Linked DNA regions of Homo sapiens: all the other regions are linked to region 2. The links are contacts of gene promoters, found by promoter capture Hi-C in blood cells and fetal thymus (Javierre and others, 2016). All regions are on one chromosome and are shown on one strand. Each heading gives the region's core, a stretch centred on a gene start or on the middle of the fragment in contact. The rest is flanking DNA. Distances are from core to core; before and after follow the strand shown. Region 1 overlaps ERAP2 (endoplasmic reticulum aminopeptidase 2). Region 2 holds the start of ARRDC3 (arrestin domain containing 3). Region 3 overlaps ERAP2 (endoplasmic reticulum aminopeptidase 2). Region 4 holds the start of LNPEP (leucyl and cystinyl aminopeptidase).

The links. Contacts are between HindIII fragments. The CHiCAGO score rates a contact against its expected background, and 5 or more counts as called.
Region 1: a contact is called between a fragment that was not itself captured here and the fragment with the promoter of ARRDC3 in region 2, in 1 of 17 cell types (fetal thymus). The highest score is 5.4, in fetal thymus.
Region 3: a contact is called between a fragment that was not itself captured here and the fragment with the promoter of ARRDC3 in region 2, in 1 of 17 cell types (total CD4 T cells). The highest score is 6.3, in total CD4 T cells.
Region 4: the fragment with the promoter of LNPEP here is called in contact with the fragment with the promoter of ARRDC3 in region 2 in 1 of 17 cell types (fetal thymus); the score reaches 10.7 in fetal thymus.

What each region holds. Positions count from the first base shown.
Region 1 is chr5:96,878,498-96,881,895 of GRCh38, reverse strand. ERAP2 (endoplasmic reticulum aminopeptidase 2) reads right to left here. Exons shown (of 19, transcript NM_022350.5): 2 at 1,636-2,332. The coding sequence starts at 2,210. It also overlaps a transcript of ERAP1 not described here. Among named protein-coding and RNA genes, the nearest start is that of ERAP2, 3.7 kb to the right of the region's middle. The HindIII fragment of the contact is 5,584 bases long and covers 1-3,398 here.
Region 2 is chr5:91,382,024-91,385,351 of GRCh38, reverse strand. It overlaps ARRDC3 (arrestin domain containing 3), which reads left to right and starts at 2,035. Exons shown (of 8, transcript NM_020801.4): 1 at 2,035-2,539. The coding sequence starts at 2,260. All of the region lies in intron 1 of ARRDC3-AS1 (ARRDC3 antisense RNA 1), which reads right to left. RefSeq lists enhancers at 1,269-1,568, 1,448-1,965 and a silencer at 1,819-2,128. The HindIII fragment of the contact is 1,076 bases long and covers 1,221-2,296 here.
Region 3 is chr5:96,896,085-96,899,984 of GRCh38, reverse strand. It overlaps ERAP2 (endoplasmic reticulum aminopeptidase 2), which reads right to left. Exons shown (of 19, transcript NM_022350.5): 8 at 3,481-3,612; 9 at 3,122-3,253. It also overlaps a transcript of ERAP1 not described here. Among named protein-coding and RNA genes, the nearest start is that of ERAP2, 22 kb to the right of the region's middle. RefSeq lists an enhancer at 2,800-2,859. The HindIII fragment of the contact is 2,192 bases long and covers 1,135-3,326 here.
Region 4 is chr5:96,933,810-96,937,343 of GRCh38, reverse strand. It overlaps LNPEP (leucyl and cystinyl aminopeptidase), which reads right to left and starts at 1,264. Exons shown (of 18, transcript NM_005575.3): 1 at 1,170-1,264. The coding sequence starts at 1,188. It overlaps LOC124901030, which reads left to right and starts at 1,269. Exons shown (of 1, transcript XM_047417984.1): 1 at 1,269-3,253. The coding sequence starts at 1,269. The coding sequence ends at 1,973. It also overlaps a transcript of ERAP1 not described here. RefSeq lists silencers at 731-810, 941-1,010, 1,951-2,020, 2,461-2,580 and enhancers at 1,601-1,910, 2,211-2,350, 2,661-2,790, 2,851-3,060. The HindIII fragment of the contact is 7,112 bases long and covers 1-3,171 here.

The sequences.
Region 1 (3,398 bases), core at 494-2,993, 5.5 Mb before region 2:
TACCTTGTGACTTGGTGAGGCTATGACTCATTCTGGTCTAGCTGAAGTCATTGGGTGGGAAATCTTTGTAAAGAGTGTTAGATTCAAGTGGAATGTTTCTTTTTGCCCTTATCTCTCCCCCGTGTCCCCCTTCTTCCTGCCTAGAATGTGGACTTGATGCCTAGAGGTGCAGCAATCATCTTGCAAGTATTAGGAAGAAAGCCATAGGATGGCTGAGCAGAAAGACAGAAGGAGCCTGGGTCCTGGATGACTCTGAACAGCACTATAGCAATCTGAGCTGCCCTACTTCTGGACTTCTTGTTGCATGAGAAAAATATGCCCCTGTGTGGTTAAGCCATGGAATTTAGATTTCTCCAACTGGCAATTGAACACAATTCACATAACGTGAGAGTGCACTGAGCCAGACTCCTCTTACCTCCCAGATGGATCCTGGCCCTGGGAAACCAAGCCGTCCACTCTATGAAGCATCCTTGATTCTTCTATTTCCCTCACCTCACATGACCAATATGTCAGCAATCTCTGTTGTTTTGCCCTCCAAAATAACTGCCAAGTTCAATTGTTTCACTCCATAAGCACTGCCACTAGCCTGGCCCAAATTAGCATCACTTCTTACCTGAACTACTGCAATGACCTCCCAATTGATTACTCTGCTTCTCTATAACATACCCTCAACATAGACTTGATCTTTATAAAGCATAAATCAGAGCAGAATCCTCCAGTGATTTCCCATTTCATCTGAGTTAAAGTCAAAACTCCTTACAAGACGCCCCAAGGCTCCACATGATCTGATCCCTTTCTCCCTCTTGTTCGCTCTCCTCAGCTTACACTGGCCTTCCTCAACCAATCCCACTTTAGAGCACTTGCCCCGAGATGTTCTCATAACTGTCTCTTTAAAAAAAAACTCAGCTCTCAATTTAAATTCACTTCCTCAACAAACACTTCCCTGCCCAGTCAACTGAATTAGTTTCAATCTCCAGCCTCATTTTCTACCTTTCTTGCACCTTGTTTTATTTCATTCATAACACTGGCCAATTACCTTGCCAATTTTATTGATTTTCTTGTCCTGGTTGTCTCTTCCATCAGATCCCACCATTATACATTCAGTGCCTAGTGCAGTGCCTGGCACATAGTATGTGCTCAATGAATGTGACTTGATCAAATTGACTATATTTCTCAATTTTCCAAACTAGTTCCTTGTTTCTGACTATTCGATATGAGTCATGGCTGTTACCTAGGCAATGTATACTTTGTCACTTCCTCTCTCCCAATCCCAGTCTCACTTACATTTCCTTCTGGTCCCAGATGAAGACTCACTTCCTTTGAGAAGCATTCCCTATTTCAGCCCTCTCTGCACTGACCATCTCTTTCCCTAGCACATAAGCATATCTATCATATCAGTCATATACTGGCCTCTCCTCCTAGTTATTCACCCTCTAGCTGTTTATGCCTCTGAGTCCTGTCTTTACATCTCTACTGTGGTTTCCTTAAGGAATGGTAGATCTTTTCCTTCTTCTGGGTTCCCCATAGTTCACTGGATTTCTCATAAATGGCTGCTGAAGTCTGCTCCTGGCAAAGAGATGTAACTCGTAAGGAAATTATCACAAAAGAATGTAAATTACCTGAGCAAGTTCTTACCTTGTTTCACCACCAAGAGTTCTGTATGTGCTTTTATAAAACCCTTCAAAGCCATCACCTAACTTGGCTTGGAAGTCCATAGCCACATAGTATTTCAGGTGAGGCGTAAGTTTCTCTGGAACCAGCAGTGCAATTTGTTCATGAGCAGGGTAACTCAAAACTTTCAGTTCTTTTCCTGGTTTCATGTATCTTGAATCTTCCTCTGACTGAAGGGTGGCATTCGTGATTTCAAGATCTTTGCTGTGCAAGATGATAAACTGGGTAGCATTGCTGACCAAGACTTCGATCTTCTCAGATGCAACAAAGTCCAGAGAGGTGAGATTGGGGTGGACAAAGAGGTCATAATGGAGAGGAATGACCACACTGGGGAGCCTTAGCTCCTGCCAAGGAAATCGTTCCCCATTAGTGGCTACTGGGAAAGCCCCAGGATCCTCAGTGAAGTGATAACTAGATGGCACTGAGAACTGAGAACAAATGCATATTTGGGGCAAGATGGCTGTTAAGCAGTAAAATCCTCTGTGAATGTTAAACATTGGTTTTCTGTGTGAATTAACCATTGCAGAAGAATGGAACATGAAATCTATTCTCTAGAAGACAAGTTAATATCCAGGCTAATCTCGTAGTTCTTCATGGCACTGCACTGGCTCCAGTTATGTCACATGGGGTCTGAACAATATTTTCAATACATGAATTTAATCTAGAAGAAAAAAACACACTTATAGCATGACAAAAAAGATTTCAATTTACAAATAAAATCTTAAACATGTAAAAAGGTATGTGTGAGTAAGGGAAAATCTGCTCTCTGTCAGAATTAGGCCAAGTATCCACAAAATAGAGCAGAAATTAAGCTGTTATCTGGTTATTACAAATAAAAACCCTTTAGGACTCCCCCAAAAAACCCTACCTTAAAATTGAATGTAATGAATTTCTTCTGAATTCTTGTGCAGCGAGCAGAAGGCAGGTGTGTAAATTCATTGCATGTTGAATGTTTTTAACATTTGGTTATATTTTAAATTTTTGTTTATTTATTTATGTTTTAGACAGGGTCTTGCTCTGTTGCCCAGGCAGGAGTAGAGTGTGCAATCATGATCACAGCTCACTGCAGCCTCAACTTCCTGGGCTCAAGTGATCCTCCCACCTCAGCCTCCAGAGTAGCTGGGACTACAGACACACACCGCCACACTCGGCTACCTTTTTTGTAGAGATGGGGGTCTCCCTGTTACCCAGGCTGGTCTCAAACTCCTAAACTCAAGCAATCCTCCCAAACTGTTGGGATTACAAGCGTGAGCCACTGTGACCAGCCTACTTTATTTTTATTCATTTATTTATGTTTTTGAGACGGAATCTCGCTGTTGTCCAGGTTGGAATGCAGTGGCACTATCTTGGCTCACTGCAACCTCTGCCTCTGGGGTTCAAGTGATTCTTCTCCCTCAGCCTCCCGAGTAGCTGGGATTACAGGTATGTGCCACCACACCCAGCTAATTTTTGTATTTTTAGTAGAGACGGGGTTTCACCATGTTGGCCTGGCTAGTCTCGAACTCCTGACCTCAGGTGATCCACTTGCCTCAGCCTCCCAAAGTGCTGAGATCACAGGCGTGGGTCACTGCGCCTGGCCATATTTTATTTTTTTTGAAAGACAATGTGTCACCATGTTGCCCAGGCTGGCCTCAAATTCCTGGGGTCAAGCAATCCTGATGTCTCAGCCTCCCAATTAGCTGGAACCACAGGCACACATGTAATTTTAAGTGTATGCCTGAAAGTAA
Region 2 (3,328 bases), core at 786-3,285:
TATAGCTAATTCTTATTTTTTCTGAAATGAGTTATATTCTAATTAAATAAATTTTACTAAAAAAATCCGAATTCAGCTGTTCACTAACCCTTAATAATTTTTAACATAAATGTAGACACAAATGTGCAATGAATTTATGTATTCATTATGGACTACACTTTTAAATCCATTCCTTGCTCAGTGGTTTTCGAATGCTTATTAAATATCATTGACCTTATGCTGAGGAAAAGCTGTCATTCTAGGAAATTCACCACTTCTACCACTAGGTGGAGAAAAAACACAAGTAGTATCTGTAATCAAAGCTAGTACAAGGCCCCAGGTACTTTACCTAGAATTTCCACCAGGTGTCAACCAAGAGGTAGGGAAAAGATAAGACTGTTTTTCCCACTTAAATATGCAAATTTATAATTTTATGCATAGCGATCTAAACTCTGAAATAAATGGCCTGCTCATTAATTGTCTAGTTTGCATATTTATACTCTTTATATATTGCTGTTGAGTCCAAGATATTGCCTTGTCAACTAAAATCCAACCCCCAAAAGCTTAGTTTCTTTTGAAATAAAACAGCAAGACCAATAAGTTTAGTTTATTGTGACTCATAGGCTCAACCTATCCATATACACTACGCAAAAGAATCTAAAACGTTTAGACACGGACAGCCAAAAATCTTCCAAGGTATTTTTGGTCATACATATATATATAGAGAGAGCACCAGATTCATATTTTTTCTTTCTACATTTCTCTTGTAAGGCAGTTCTGTTGATTGCCAGTAATCTAGATGAGTTTATGCTGTTATGCTCTGAATCCCAGTGTGATGTGACGAAAGCACTGCTATTTTTTACCAAACATTCACAATAAAAAGAGAAATGTACCTATATTTAAGATGTATCATGAGAATTACTACGTTAAATGGTCCAAGGCTCTCGGCCGAAAATTAAAGCTTCACACAGTTAAATCCCTATTTATATACCAAATCATGCTTTTTAAAAACAATTTTATGCGCTTCACTAATTTCTAACAAAGATTTTCCGATTCTGTTGCAAACAATATGTCAGCTAAACCACTATGTCATATGCCTTTTATAAGGTAGTACTTTTTTAGGCCGAACTCTATTCTTATTCCTCTGGACACAGGAGTTGTAATCATGTCTTACTCTGCAAATCTAGCCGTAGGTGGTGTCTTAAAAGGACTTTTTCTTCCTTCGAGGAAGTGATCAAGCTTCCCCCAGCCCCCACCCGTGTCATCCTGGAAACAACTTGGTTGTTTTTCGGTGCTAATTAAGCAATGTAGGAGAAAGAAGTTGAGGAGACAGCAAAGCCTATTGATTACATTGTACTTGCTTCTCTACCTCGCTCTTCAAAGGATTAAGGTTCCTTTGACCTCGACTGAGTTCATTTCCAACCTGCCTACAAAGTACTGGTTTAAAAAAAAAAAATCCAAGCAAAGTATGCTCTTGTCTATGAACAATATTTCTTGTCCGGTTTTATTACGTTTTCTTTGGAAATTCGTTAGATTATGCTCAACAATCGGCCGCTTGCCCAACCGGTTTCTCCCTTCCCCCATCTCTCTTCACACATCACTTTTTCCTCCTCCCATCCAGGCAGTTGGTAAAACGCTGCAGTGCCGGTAACGCACGCTTCGGGCTGGTCGCTGCAGTTTATCCTAACTTGGCTTTGCAAACTCCCCACCCAGCCCTTGTACCCTCGCACCCCACTCTGCCATTATCTTTCTAGTAGAGTGCGCTCGGTAACGGGCTCCAGATAGCACGTCGAGGGTATACGGTAGCCTGCCTACCAATAGGAGCCCACAATGAAGAGAAGTCAGGTTCAGCCGGCCAGCAGCTCCAGTATCTCCTTCCCCTAGCTCTACACCTACTGTACCCGGGAGCGAGCGGGCAAGGGAGCGAGCGCGGCGCGGCGCGGCGCGGGAGGGGGCGCGCAGGGAGGGCGGACAGCAGCCGCGGCCTGCGCCTGCGCACTGGGGTTGTTTTTCACAAAGCTGCTCTTAAAGTGAGCTGGCAGCTTTTAGCCGCCCGTCTTTGTAAGGAGACCACTGAGACGAGCGGGAGCGCGGAGCAGCAGCCTCTGCTGCCCTGACTTTTTAAGAAATCTCAATGAACTATTTGTAGAGAATCACTGATCCGGCCTGCAAGCATTTTGCACGGCAAAAATATCGATCAGTGTTAAGTGAAGATCACATTTTATATGCGATCTTGACTTTTTTGTCTTACATTATATTTTTATAGATTTTGTTATAAACATGGTGCTGGGAAAGGTGAAGAGTTTGACAATAAGCTTTGACTGTCTTAATGACAGCAATGTCCCTGTGTATTCTAGTGGGGATACCGTCTCAGGAAGGGTAAATTTAGAAGTTACTGGGGAAATCAGAGTAAAATCTCTTAAAATTCATGCAAGAGGACATGCGAAAGTACGCTGGACTGAATCTAGAAACGCCGGCTCCAATACTGCCTATACACAGAATTACACTGAAGAAGTAGAGTATTTCAACCATAAAGACATCTTAATTGGGCACGAAAGAGGTAAGTTTTTGTTATTCATAAGTCATTGGACTCATTTTCTTTGGAAACGTACCTTTTCAGTTTTCTGAATTAACGTGATTCTACTCCTAGCATAACTAAGCAGTTTGAGAAAGGTTAGCAAAGTTGGAAGGTTTGGATTCTCCTTGACGTTCATCGTGTGTTAAGCCGTAATGCATGCAGGCATCTGCAAAGTGACTGCAAACTACACTTATTCAGCTACCTCTGTACCCGGCTCGGTCTGTGCCACACGCACTTGTAGTCCATTTGCACCTTACTTATAAATTCTGTTTGAATCCAATTCAGTCGTTTTACTAATATATTTTCAAATGAATTGGTAAAAGCTGCAGTCTTAGATTTTTGCCCTTTTACTTGCAACCTAAGATGTAAAAACTGAACTTCGATCAAGAAATGTAATAACATTTTTAAGAGACTTAATGGGTGTGTTTCATTTTTAATATTGGAATGCAAAAGACTTTAAATAATTGATGACTGTTCTTTCATAAAAGATTTCTGTGGCTTATTTTGACATATGGTATCAACACCCCACGTGTTTTTTCTCTATTCTTTACCATTCCTTTAAAAATTTACACCCAGCATTCCTTATTTTAAAGGAATGACTATCTGTCATTATGATAGGTATCGAGTCAGGTTTAGAAGCCATTTAGGATCAGTAATTTTCTTTTCCGAGCATCATGTCTAACTTTGGAACGTGCATTCAATGAAACCCATGCCAGTCAAATGGAATTGAAAAGTATAGGGCACACTGGATTTGATTTTTGGTTAGAAGAG
Region 3 (3,900 bases), core at 981-3,480, 5.5 Mb before region 2:
ATGGAAAAAAAGGCATGTTTGCAGTGACCTGGGATAGAAGTCCACAAAAGTTATTTCTTTGTGTTATATATACGCATGTGTAAAGTTTCCTTAAAAAGTTCAATAAAGTCATTAACCGTTCTAAGGAAGAATCAATTTGTTGAATTTTCTATCCAATTCTTCTCTTTCCCTTAAGAAAGGTCCTATTTTATTATTTCATGCTGCATGTTATGTATGCCCCTATTTAGCATGTAGGCAACTCTGTCTAGTACTGTTAACTCTCCCCTGACATATTACAAGTTCTTTGACAGTAGGGGAAACACCTTTGTTTACCAAGGTATTCCTACAGTGGCTATCACAACAGCATGTGATGAGTGTACAATATTTCGAACTAACTGGGAATAAAATAAGAATTAAGAAAAGTACCAACTTGGCAATTGACCCTTGAATAACCAGTACTTAAGGGCAACTGCAAATGAGAAAAAATGAAGAATGTGCTAAGGCTCTCAAATGCCTTTAAATGATCTTATGAAAAATAACAGCAACTAATTCTTCTCATTCTCAAGTTGCTATTGACATGTATTAGAATTGACTTTATGTGACACAATGGTGGGCAAGATATTTTCAGTAATTTATTATTTTAATACTACAGGGCCCTTTGGTGTCAGAAGAGAGTTGGTCAAAATCTAGGACCTTTAGGGGAAGATTGATGGGGGACTTTTCTTAAAACTAGGAACTAGCTGTGATATAATTGAATAACTATTGGACTTAGAAGACAAATTTTAAGTACTGATTTTCTCACTGACTTGGTGACTTTGGGCAAATCTGTCCCTTAGTATCAGTTTTCTCACTTATAAACACAGAGTAATGATGATTACTTTATCTTTTGAGATGATTATAAGCATGATGTGACAAAAAATAACACAGGAATTTACACTGCTGGCCTAAAATGATCTGGTAATTGCTGGCCAAATTTTCTTTTTAACTCCCACCCTCTACTGCCAGTATGCACACCAAATGATAGATTCTTCCGTGTTGGAGGGGAGCTAAACTGATGTCTACAAATATACATACATGCACACACACATGGCAAGGGAGAGGGAAATGGAGAGGGATGAGAGACAGAAGCAACACAATACTTGGTGCTGAGAAGCTTAAGCGGAAGCATGGAGAAAGTGTGTCTGGACCACTGACGGTGGGTGATGGAAATGGATAGTAAAGAGCATCTTTATATGTTTTTTGTTTGTTTGTTTGTTTTGTTTTGTTTTAAGACAGAGTCTCACTCTGTCACCAGGCTGGAGTCCAGTGGTGTGATCTCAGCTCATTGCAACTCCGCCTCCTGGATTCAAGTGATTCTCCTGCCTCAACCTCCCGAGTAGCTGGGATTACAGGTGATCCACCAGACCTGGCTAATTTTTTTTTTTTTTTTTTTTGTATTTTAGTAGAGATGGGTTTTCACCATGTTGGCCAGACTGACCTCAGGCAATTTGCCCACCTCGGTCTCCCAAAGTGATGGGATTACAAGCATGAGCCACCGCACCAGGCCTATAAGTATTTTTGTAAGTAAAAACTATGTATTTGAATATGTCTCAGGATTTTCAAGAAATGCAAGTAAAAAATAGGAGCTGTGAAATAATTTTTGATTGTTGGATTTTGTTTCTTTAACCACAAAATCACACATCAGTTGGACCATAAGTGTGCTTTATAAGGGCACAAAAATATCAAATGAGATAATCAACATGAAAGTGCTTTTTATTCTTTAACTTTGATTTTTTATTTATTATTAATTATTGTTATTATTATTATTATTGAGACAGAGTCTCACTCTGTCACCCAGGCTGGAGTGCAGTGGTGCAATCTCGGCTCACTGCAACCTCCAGCTCCTGGGTTCAAGTGATTCTCCTGCCTTAGCCTCACGAATAGCTGGGATTACAGGCAAGCACCACCATGCCAAGCTAATGTTTGTATTTCTAGTACAGACGGGGTTCCACGAATTGGCCAGGCTGGTCTCAAACTCCTGACCTGAAGTGATCTACCCACCTTGGTGTCCCAAAGTCTTGGGATTACAGGCGTGAGCCATTGTACCCGGCCATGAAAGTGTCTTTAAACTGTAAACTGCTGCAGAAATATTAAACAATATTATTACTGTCCCTGGGACACAAGTGCTTGTAAAAAAGAAAGGATCTCTTCTGTCTACAATGACTTAGGGTTCTTCTAATTACAGGTATGAGTTCTCTGGGTCTAATGGTTCTATAAAAAATTATTTTCTTTGCAGTTGGAAATTTTAAAATATTTTAATAATTATTAGAATCATCTGAATTAACTGAATTTTTCTGCTTTGCCTTTCCTATTATCTACATGAATCCCAAAGACAGACCATAAGTTCTTTAATCAATCATTAACTGCTTATTAATCACTATTATAAGATCAACATATGCTAGGTGCTATCACATTAAAAAAAGAATAGACACAATTTTTGTTCTTAAGCACATTATCATTATTGAACTAATAAAAACAATAAAAGAGGGTACTATTATGTGGAACAGATTATAAGTGCACTGCTAAGAATTTAGCAGACAGGCAAACGAATGAGGGCTGGAACAGTCTGTAAGGAGGAGGTGAAATCTCAGCTGGATCTTAAAAGTTGGGTGGCATTTGAATTGTTGGAAAGAAGAAAGGGCATTTCAGCTAGTAAAGGCACTAGAAATATAGGCACAATGATCTAGAGATTGAGCAAGATTTCTTCTTATAAGAGAGAAGATTAGTTTTGCTCAACAAATATATACACATTGGGGAATACAGTTGACAACCTTAAAATTTGCCAGAGATTAGGTGTTATATGGTAGAAATTACAACATTTTAAAGATTTTAGATCAAGGGAACATAAAAGTGTAGGATTAGTCGTAGAAGAGAAACCAAAGAAAGTCAGGTCAAATAGTGAGCCCCTGGGGCCACCCCAGCGTGACATCCTAGTGTGGTGTTAGAGGAAAAAGGGAAGTGCTGCCTTCTATAGACCATGACAACATAGCAAGCAGAATAAATATGGTTGACTGACAATATATAGCTATTTATAAACATTCACAATTATTCTGTTACTTTCTAGATTAAATAACAGTCTATCGTTACCCAACATATGACTTACATTTGACAGACTGCTCCACAAGTCATCATTCTTAGCATTTCTATAGCTGAACTTCTTTAAGTACTGAATTATTCCTTTCTGGAATTTCTCCTCACCCAGAAAATCCTTGAGCATATTCAAAATACAAGCTCCCTTTAAAAAAAAACAAAAGAGTTGAAAAAAGAGATAAAGAAAATGGTAGTATGGTATGTTTTTAAAGGAAGCTTAAATTTTACGGAACATGTGTGATGTCTGAAAAGTGAACAAATAAAAAGTGAAACAAGTAGCAGGAACTGGCACCAGTGACTTAAACTGCTGATTCTATAGTCATTATTACACTTCTGAAAGCAGAGCTTCCACCTGCACCTGATATTTACTACCTTGTTATAGGAAACTTCATCAAACATTTCCTGTATTTGAGTCGGGGTTTCCGCTGGTTTGGAGATAGGGCGGGATGAATTCAATGAATCTTTTGTAATTACTTCAAAACACACATTCAAAAAATAGTCATCCTAAACAGGGAGAAAAATGTTTAGTTTTAGTTTCTATTTGACACTGTAAAAGCAATAGAAAACATAGTAGGTTTAGTAAGATGTTCTTAGAGGTAAGATTTCAATCGATATTTCTTGGGAGATGTTTCTTTTCTTGTATGTATTCCCCTTTGGCCAAAGGGGAATACATCTTTTTAAAGTTTCTCTACTTTAAAAAGATACAAATCCAATATTCCTTCAGACATTGCCTGAATGTTTATCATGTACCAGCCCTTGAATACAGAAATAAAATAATGGTTTCCATTTAGT
Region 4 (3,534 bases), core at 15-2,514, 5.6 Mb before region 2:
TTCTACATTAGGAATAGGGAGAATATAATCAGTAGTTCACAGCCCCATGAATGAAGCACAGCATACAACAAAGTCTGGCTGGGATTTGGGATAAAGTGGACAATATCTGTCTGCTCTTGAGTGGTAACTAACAAACTAAACAGGGATATAGACTGTGGCCCCTATTAATGTGATACTGTACCTGAAGTAACCAACCACACTCAGCAAAACATGTCAACCAGAGACTGAATCCTCTTTTAGTGAGTCGTCTCCCTTACTGGCAGTTTTCCTACTTTCTATCTTAAAAGGGAATCCACACACTCAACACCGCAAAACGGTAAGACATCTCACCCCTATATTGTGGCTCTGGCACTTCTGGTCCGCACAAAAGCCATGGTTCTAACTAGGGTGGGATTTATGCTCCCCGTTCAGTGAAGGGCTGTGGCTGTTTGCAGGGTGCAGGCTCCCTGCGTTGACTCTCGCTTCCTGTCACACAGTGGTATCACCACCGTGACGGACCCTTGACATTAACAAGTCTTTGACTGAAAAACTGATGTGATCTGCAGCCAGTGAGGGGATGCGTGGTGGCCCTGCCGAGTACCTCGGCAGGGTCAGGAGGGTGGCACTGTGGCCAGGCACCTCCGCGGCACCGAGCGAGGTGAGCAAGCCTTTCCTGAAGTTTCCCTTCCTTCCACAACATTAACCTGCCAAGCCTCCCACCCCCACCCCGCCCTATTAGGAAAAGTCACGCCGGCAGCTCACTGAAGGGCAGGGGGACAGCTCCTGGCGCCCCACAAAAGTTGGGCTCGGCAGCTGCCACAACTTAACGCTCCTACAGGAGAGTCGGGCCGACACCGCCTCCTCCGGGGGCAAACCTGAGCTGCCAACTTTCCCACTGCCCACTCCTCTGCGCACAGCAGCCCAAACTTTGCTGTTTGCCCACCGGCCGCACCCCGGGCGAGCGGCGGCGGCGCTGACCTTCAAGCCAGCCCCGGGTCCCGCACTGGCCGCCGCCCGCCCCCCGAACCTCCCTGCCTCCCCCAGATCCCCTCTCCCTGCCTCCCTCAGCCCTCGTGGGAAGCCCGCGGTGTTGGGGGAGACGGCTGCAGCCCGACCCCGCGTGTCACGACTGCCCACGACCCTCAGGGCTCCGGAGAGCCCGGGTCCCGGCGCCTCGGCAGCCCACTCACCATTGGTGAAGGGCTCCATTTTCCCCCCGCCGCGGCTCCTTACAGCCGGAGCGCCCGAGCTTCCTACTCCGAGAGCTGAGGCGGCCCAGCTGACTGAGCATGCCCAGCGCGGCCTCCAAGGGCTGCCAGGGAGGTGCCGCGAGGGGCGGCGCCGCTCCGCCGTTCCGGGTTTTCGTGGCAGCTGCAGAAAGAGCGAGGGAAGCAAGAGGGAAAAGCACAGTCAAACCCCCTGCTGCTCCGTGGACAGGCGAGGTGGGAGCGGGTTCGCGCTGGGGGCGGGGCCTAGGCGGGGCCGGGAAAGCCCAGCCCCTACCTGAAGTGGACCCGGCTGCGGCGCTCTCCCCGGCCGGGAACGGTGTTCAGTCACTCAACAAATGTGGAGCCCTACTGCGACCCGCCCGATCCCGGACGCCGAGACACCCGCACTGCGCCAGAAAATCATGGTCCCAGTCCCAGGAGCGGACATTCCAGAAACAGACCATAAATAAACACAGAAGACACACGAGTGTAAAGTCAGTGCCCCGCTGCGAATTAAATCGGGGTGATGTGATGGCGAGTGAGTGGGTAGTTAATTCGGATGGCTTGGTTAGACGAGGCCTCGCTGAGCAGGTGCCACTGAAGCCGAAGTCTGAAGGCAGAGCAGGAACCTGCGGGCGAAGGTCGCTATCTGAACCGCGAATCGCTGGTTTCCCTGGGGAGGTTGGCCGCGGAGGGATCACTGCTCGAAGGACCGAGGGAGCGGGCGCTGTAGGTGTTTTCGGCAGAGATGCCCGCCCGCATCAGAGTGCCTCAGGAGGGCGGTGAGGAGGAGACGGAAGAGAGGGCGGGGACCTCGCAGGGCCGAGGGCGCCCTGGGGTCCAGTCCCGGGGCTGGCGGCTGCCTTGCGGCCTCTAGGTGCGGGCGGATAACAAAACCCGGCGCCGGATCGCCCGGCCCGGGTCGCGGGCGCCGCAGGATGTGGGCAGAAGGCCCGCCTGTTCCGAGCCTTAAATCAACACCTGCGGTTCCCGGGGGTGCTACCACTGGGGCCCGCAGCAAGGCTCCGCGGCGCTAGGCCCGAGAAACCGAAACTCCCCTAGTCGCCCCTGCCCCCCAGCACTCGCGCCATTGCCTCCAGCCCCGAGCCACCATTGTTTCCAGTGCCAAATCGGGCAGCCCCGCTAGCCTCCGAGGCCGAACCGCCAGGGGCCCCATAAGCCCCGAGGAGGCTCGTCGGGAACCGCTTCCTTATCCTCTCGGTATGCGCATCGCCACCACCCTCGCTGCAGAGGCCGCCGCCCTCCCAGCGCGCCATCACCGCCTCCTCTGCCTCTTCCCCTCCCTCAGCCCCGGCCCCTGCATTGACTTGGCTCGGGCTGCGCCTCACTGCGCCTGCCAACTGTCACACGCTCTGAGGCTTTCAACAGCGGGGCGCCAGGGACAAACAAGCCGCGGCAAGCGCAAACAGCCTGCTCAAACAGGGACGGCCAGGGTGTTGTTTGACCAGCACTGGAATTGGAAACTAGGTTTCGAAGAAGTCAAATCGAAGTACAATATTGTATTTTAAACTGCCTGTTGTTATTACATCCCTCACAACGCACGCTCTACTTGAAACTTCCAGTGGATACCAACTGCACTTAGAATAAAAAATGAAACTCCTTGCCTAACTCTGGGACCTCATCAGCACATACTCACCATATTTTGGTAACAAAGGCCTTCATGCTGTTCCCGGAAGTCGCCAAGTTCCATCCATCATTGTTAATAATTCCTTTTGCTCGCTCCTCGCACAAGAACTGTTTCTTCTGCTTAGTGCTTTGCCTACTGATTCCATCTTGTCATTTAAGTCTCGGCTCAAATGTCACCTCTGCAAAGAACCCTTGTCTGACCATACATCTAAAATAGCCACAAACACTCTATAAAGACTTGGCCTTGCTTTATTTCCTTCTCAGCACTCATCACTGTCTGAAACAATGTTTTGGATTTGTTGCTTATTATCAGTCTCCCTTCTCAAGAATGCAAGCTTTGTGAGGGCAGAGTCGTAATCTTTTTTAAGGCTGTATCCCCAATGCCTGGGTAAGTATACAATAAATAATTTTTGCATGAATAAGTGAAGGACATAGTGGTGTTTAGAGTTCACTTCCACTGCTGCAAACCCTTCCAGTTAATGACTCCATACTGAATGATGTGTTTGATCAGTACAGAGAAGGTGTCTGTATCATATGATACCTCAGAGCTGCTATCTCCCTAATGTGTGAAAGGTAATCAGAACCGTTAGGCTGGCCCCTAGTACTGACATTTTAGAACCAAAAATAGTGAACCACAGGAGCTGATGTATCCCAGTTCAGATATTATATAGTACACGCAGAGCTAGATTTTGTTAACATA